Linked DNA regions of Homo sapiens: region 1 is linked to region 2. Evidence: promoter capture Hi-C in human tissues and cell types (Jung and others, 2019). All regions are on one chromosome and are shown on one strand. Each heading gives the region's core, a stretch centred on a gene start or on the middle of the fragment in contact. The rest is flanking DNA. Distances are from core to core; before and after follow the strand shown. Region 1 overlaps RERE (arginine-glutamic acid dipeptide repeats). Region 2 holds the start of PARK7 (Parkinsonism associated deglycase).

The links. Contacts are between HindIII fragments. The study calls those that stand out against the background at their distance.
Region 1: a contact is called between a fragment that was not itself captured here and the fragment with the promoter of PARK7 in region 2, in 1 of the 25 tissues and cell types used here (dorsolateral prefrontal cortex).

The regions. Positions count from the first base shown.
Region 1 is chr1:8,512,845-8,515,544 of GRCh38, forward strand. All of the region lies in intron 7 of RERE (arginine-glutamic acid dipeptide repeats), which reads right to left. Among named protein-coding and RNA genes, the nearest start is that of SNORD128, 19 kb to the left of the region's middle. The HindIII fragment of the contact is 5,560 bases long and covers 1-2,700 here.
Region 2 is chr1:7,960,323-7,963,022 of GRCh38, forward strand. It overlaps PARK7 (Parkinsonism associated deglycase), which reads left to right and starts at 1,389. Exons shown (of 7, transcript NM_007262.5): 1 at 1,389-1,471; 2 at 2,441-2,553. The coding sequence starts at 2,464. RefSeq lists enhancers at 457-1,240, 940-1,039, 1,241-2,024, 1,420-1,469, 1,670-1,719 and 1 more and a silencer at 1,190-1,289. The HindIII fragment of the contact is 29,789 bases long and covers 1-2,700 here.

The DNA.
Region 1 (2,700 bases), core at 163-2,662, 550 kb after region 2:
ATCCTCGATCTTTAGGCCCTGGGTTCTGCCTGCACAGACCCCCATCTTCTGTGACTTCCGGAGAGCCACTTCCTAGATGAGGAGGTGAAACTCAACAACAAGATCGGCGACTACCAGACCAACCTCCCCAGGCTGGGCTGGGTAAATGTTTCTTCCAAAAGACTCACCCTCAAGCACCACGAGGAGCCTACAGAGCCCAGCAAACTTTTAGGAGCCCCTCTCAAAGTTCAGGGCTACTGCCTAAGCAGCGCCTCCAGCCACTACCCTGGACCCCTCTCCCAAGCCGTGGACAAAACAGAAATAAAGCTTATTACAAAAAATAAAAATAAAAATTACTGAACATCCCAAGAAATCTAAATTTTTGAAAACTTTCAAAATATTGATTTAAAAATAGCAATAAGCCCATTACATAACAATATACATATTCTTATAAAAAGTAATTGCATTTAAGCAGAAACCTTTAGTAAAAAGTGAGGCATTATTTTATGTTTTTGCAAATCTCATTAATATTTGACTTAATAGAAAAGACAGCTAGATTCTCCTATCTACTTTTGAATTCAATCTGCTGCAATATATTGTTGTGGTTAAATTATATGAAGATAATACAGCCTAACACAGTGATGTAACTAGAAAAGGGAAGAATATAGCCTTTTTGATACTACACCAAAAACTCAACAAGTTCCCGGCACTCTGGGGGGCCGAGGTGGGAGGATCACTTGAGGTCAAGAGTTCGAGACTAGCCTGGCCAACATAGTGAAACCCTGTCTCGACTAAAAATACAAAAAATTAGCCGGGTGTGGTGTTGCATGCTTGCAATCCCAGATACTCAGGAGCCTGAGGCAGCAGAATTGCTTGAACCTGGGAGGCAGAGGTTGCAGTGAGCCAACATCGTGCCATTGTACTCCAGCCTGGGCAACAAGAGCGAAACTCTGTCTCAAAAACAAAACAAAACAAAACAAAAACTCAACAAGTAATCATTTCTTAAAGATGTGTACACAAGGTGAGTCTAAAAGCCTATCAATAGTCTTTTGACTGTGCTACTCTGAAATCCATTGGTCTGTCTTGCCTTTGAATGAATGGATCTTCTACTCAGATGTGATTTTGTAATGTCATGCATTGGTTTTATAGAGAATGTCAGTTTACTCAGTTCTGCAGATCTTTCAAATATCAACCAGTTCTTTATACAGCATTTTTTAAAAATCATATTAATATCACCTATCTCATAAGAAATGCCTTTCAGTGTAGAGAAGCTGTCAGGCTCAGAGTGGTGAGTACAAGCTTTTCGAAATTCTAATTTTTACTTGAAAGTTCAAATCTTAGCCTTGTCAAATAGTATCAGTGTTTTCCTTGAAATAACAAGCTCACTTAATTCATCTTCAAGAAAGTTTCTGCCAAATGCCCACGTCTGAATGACCACAGTTTGTCTGTCAGTTGTTCTTTCAAAGAGTAACTGATATTCCATGAAAAAAGTGGCTAGCTTCGCTTCTAACTCAAATGTCTCGACGGAACCAAGGCTTCTCCTCAAGACAATCACTGTCTTTTGGTATAGGGCAGAAGACTTTTAAGTCGGGAAGCCAAGTCTTGGGATTAAAAAATACTAATAGGCTGGGCGAGGTGGCTCACGCCTGTAATCACAGCATTTTGGGAGGCCGAGGCAGGTGGATCACCTGAGGTCAGGAGTTCGAAACCAGCCTAGTCAACATGGTGAAACCCCATCCCTACTAAAAACACAAAATTAGCCATACCGGGTGGTGTGTGCCTGAATCCTAGCTACTCGGGAGGCTCAGGCAGGAGAACTGCTTGAACCCGGGAGGCAGAGGTTACAGTGAGCTGAGGTCACACCATTGCACTCCAGCCTGGGCAAAAAAAGAATGAAACTCCGCCTCAAAAAAAAAGAAAGAAAAGAAAAGAAAGAAAAGACAAGACAAGAAAAGAAAAGAGAAATAATAATAATAATAATGAGGTCCACAAGCTATGCTCTGAGAAGCACTGATTATGGCACATTCTGAACTTCAGCAAGTGCTGGAGGCTAAAATTCATCTAGAAGACTCCAGCTTTCTTCTTTGATGAATAACAACAGTAGCTAACATTTCAGCACTTACTATCTGTCCTAGGTGCTCTACAGTATTATCTCATTTCTAGGTATTAAGGCATTTAATTCATGTTTTGATATTAACAGACATGTTAGTATTGCTATTCACAGAAATTCAGGTGTCTTTCTATCCTGTGTTCAAAGCAACACAGCACTACACGTGGTGGTGCACACCTGGAATCCCAGCACTCTGGGACGCTGAGGCAAGAGGACAGCTTGAGCTCAGGAGTTTGAGACCAGCCTGGGCAACAGGCTTTATAAAAAATGTTTTTTTAATTAGCTGGTCACGGTGGCACGCACCTATAATCCCACCTACTCAGGAGGCTGAGCCAGGAGAATCACTTGAGCTCTGGAGTTTGAGGCTGCAGTGAGCTATGATCACACCACTGCACTCCAGCCTGGGCAAAACAGAGCTAGACTGTCTTTAAAAAAACAAACAGGCCGGGCGTGGTGGCTCACCTGAGGCAGGCAGGTCACCTGACGTCAGGAGTTCAAGACCAGCCTGGACAACATGGTGAAACCCCACACTACTAAAAATACAAAACTTAGCCGGGCGTGGTGGCAGGCGCCTGTAGTCCCAGCTACTCAGGAGGCTGAGGCAGGAGAAT
Region 2 (2,700 bases), core at 139-2,638:
TGATTTCACTCATAAATGGGAAGTTGAAAAGTGGATATCATGAAGATAAGTTGGTGGTTACCAGAGGCCAGGAAGGGTAGCCAGGAGAAGGGGATGAACAGGGTGATTAATAGGTACAAAAATTGGTAGAAGTGCTGGGCAAGGTGTCAAGAGCCCCAGCATCAGAAAGTGGTCGACTTGCTGGTTGGTAAGAAGAATTTATCGACAACAATATAGGTTTGAAAAAGGAAAGTTTTATTAGAACGCTGCAGAAGAGTGCAGCCTCAGCAAGAGAGAACTGAGCATGCCGCGGTGGATTTTTCATGTCCCTTTTCGAATGTCTCATTTTTTGCAAATTCAATCCAAGTTGCGTTCATTTAGCCAGGATCCTTCTAAGCTCATTCAAGAATTTTGGGCTTTAACTATTTCCTTTGATTTAACCTGGTACCAGGTGCCAACTTTAGATAATAGGGATATCTAATTACTTCTAAATTCCTCAGATAAGGGGCCTGCTTGATGGTCACCAGGTGATCTGTGCTCTCCTTAAGAGGGAATAAGACCTAGCGTTGGCAGAGTTCTGTAGGGTGACTATAGTTAACAGTAATCTGTTGTATATTTTAAAATGTTATTATTGAAGAGAGTAACTGGAATGTTCCCAGTATAAAGACAAATGTTTAAGGTGATAGAGATCTCATTTACCCTGATTTAATCATTACACATTATATGAAAGTATCAAAATACCACATGTACCCAGAAAACACATACGTCTCTTACATATCAATAAATACAACTTGAGATTATGATGTAAATACATCTGACCAACTTGGTACTTATTAGACTTATGTGCGCAGCACTGCTCTAGTCCTGTGGGTGCAGCAGCATCAGGATCGTTAAAGAAAACAAACAATGCTGAGAAAAAAACTCACACCCCTGAGACATCCGGGTGTGAATAAATGCGGCAGAGTCGCCCGAGATCGGGAGACCAGGCGTGGGGGAGAGGTCCGGGAGGCCTGGACCAGAGTCCTAACAGACCAGAGGCGAAACGGGAAGGCGCGCCAGAAAAGGAACAACGCAAAGGGAGCAGGCGTGCACGGAGCGCGAACTAAGGAACCCCTCTGACAACCCCAGTCCCTCGGCAGTTCCAGAGACCGGCTCCTCACGGAGGGTGGCGGTAGAGACTGTTAAGCCCCGCGGGCGCCGGGGCAGGCCGGACTGTGCCATTCGTGGGGGGTACCATGTGGGACCGAGCCGCCTCACCCAGGGCTGTCCAGCTAGAAACTCCCCGGTGCCACCCCCGCCTCAGTCCGAGGTAGACTCGGCCGGACGTGACGCAGCGTGAGGCCAAGGCGGCGTGAGTCTGCGCAGTGTGGGGCTGAGGGAGGCCGGACGGCGCGCGTGCGTGCTGGCGTGCGTTCATTTTCAGCCTGGTGTGGGGTGAGTGGTACCCAACGGGCCGGGGCGCCGCGTCCGCAGGAAGAGGCGCGGGGTGCAGGTCAGCGCCAGCGGGGGCGCGGCGCATGTGTGGGCCGTGGCGCTGGGCGGCGTGGGGGTGCTGGACGGTGTCCCTGTGCTGGACGGTGTCCCGCTGGCTCAGAACCGGCGCGGGGCCTGGGTCGGGGCCGCCCTCGCTTCCGGCCTCCCAGTCGGGCCCTGTCGCTGGCGTTGGATTTGACTGACCGCCAGCGTGGTGGCAACGCTGAAGCGTCCAGAATCTTCTGCCTAACCTCTCGCCGGCATGGAACTGGCTAGCCGTTTTATTAAACTCTGTTTTGCGTGGACGGTAAACCCTCCAGATAATCTGTAAATAGGCTAAAAAAAATTCGGAACCTCGTTGAGCTGCTGTCGTTGGCAGTGAGAACTCCGCGCAGAGAGACAGATGTAGTTGGGTTGACTTCAGTGAGGGGATTTCCATCTTTCTCAGTCATTAAAAAAAGTGTTCAGACATTTAACACTGTTGACCCCCACACACAATTTTTTAGTACAGTTATAACTAAGAAAACAAAAATCCCCTCCAAAAAATTACAAGTTAATTGCGAAAGACCACATTTAAATTTTTGCCCATGAAATTCAGTTTAGTCGTTTCTCTGAAACAGTGCTTCAAAAAAGACTGTTTCCCCGCATTGTGTGAAATGCAGGAGACCCACGTACTTGTATTTTTAAAAAACCCATTTGCAACATACTATTAAAGTTGGATTTAAGAGAACATGGTAGAAGAAAATCTAAGCAATACTACACCTTTTAGCACCCTCATTATGTTTTCATCTCAGAGCAATTAAAACTGCTATACAAATCAACGTTAAGATAACTAAACTGCTGCTTTTTTCGTATTCAGTTGTCTATGAAAACCGTTTCCCTAGGAAGTACTTACTCTGCTTGAAAATGCTCCTAAACTTTAAATTTTGGGGTATCTCAGGGTTGCAATGAAAGTTTTTTGAAATCTTTTTTTTTTTTTTTTTTTAAGGCTTGTAAACATATAACATAAAAATGGCTTCCAAAAGAGCTCTGGTCATCCTGGCTAAAGGAGCAGAGGAAATGGAGACGGTCATCCCTGTAGATGTCATGAGGCGAGCTGGGGTAAGTCCCACATCGATTTTTAGCCATTCCTGTTTTAAATGTTTTTGGATTTTTAAATCATTTTGAATAAAATATTCAAAGTGCTCTATGAAATATTTCAAATATACACAAAATTTCAGAGATGACATAAGAATAAATACCTGTTGA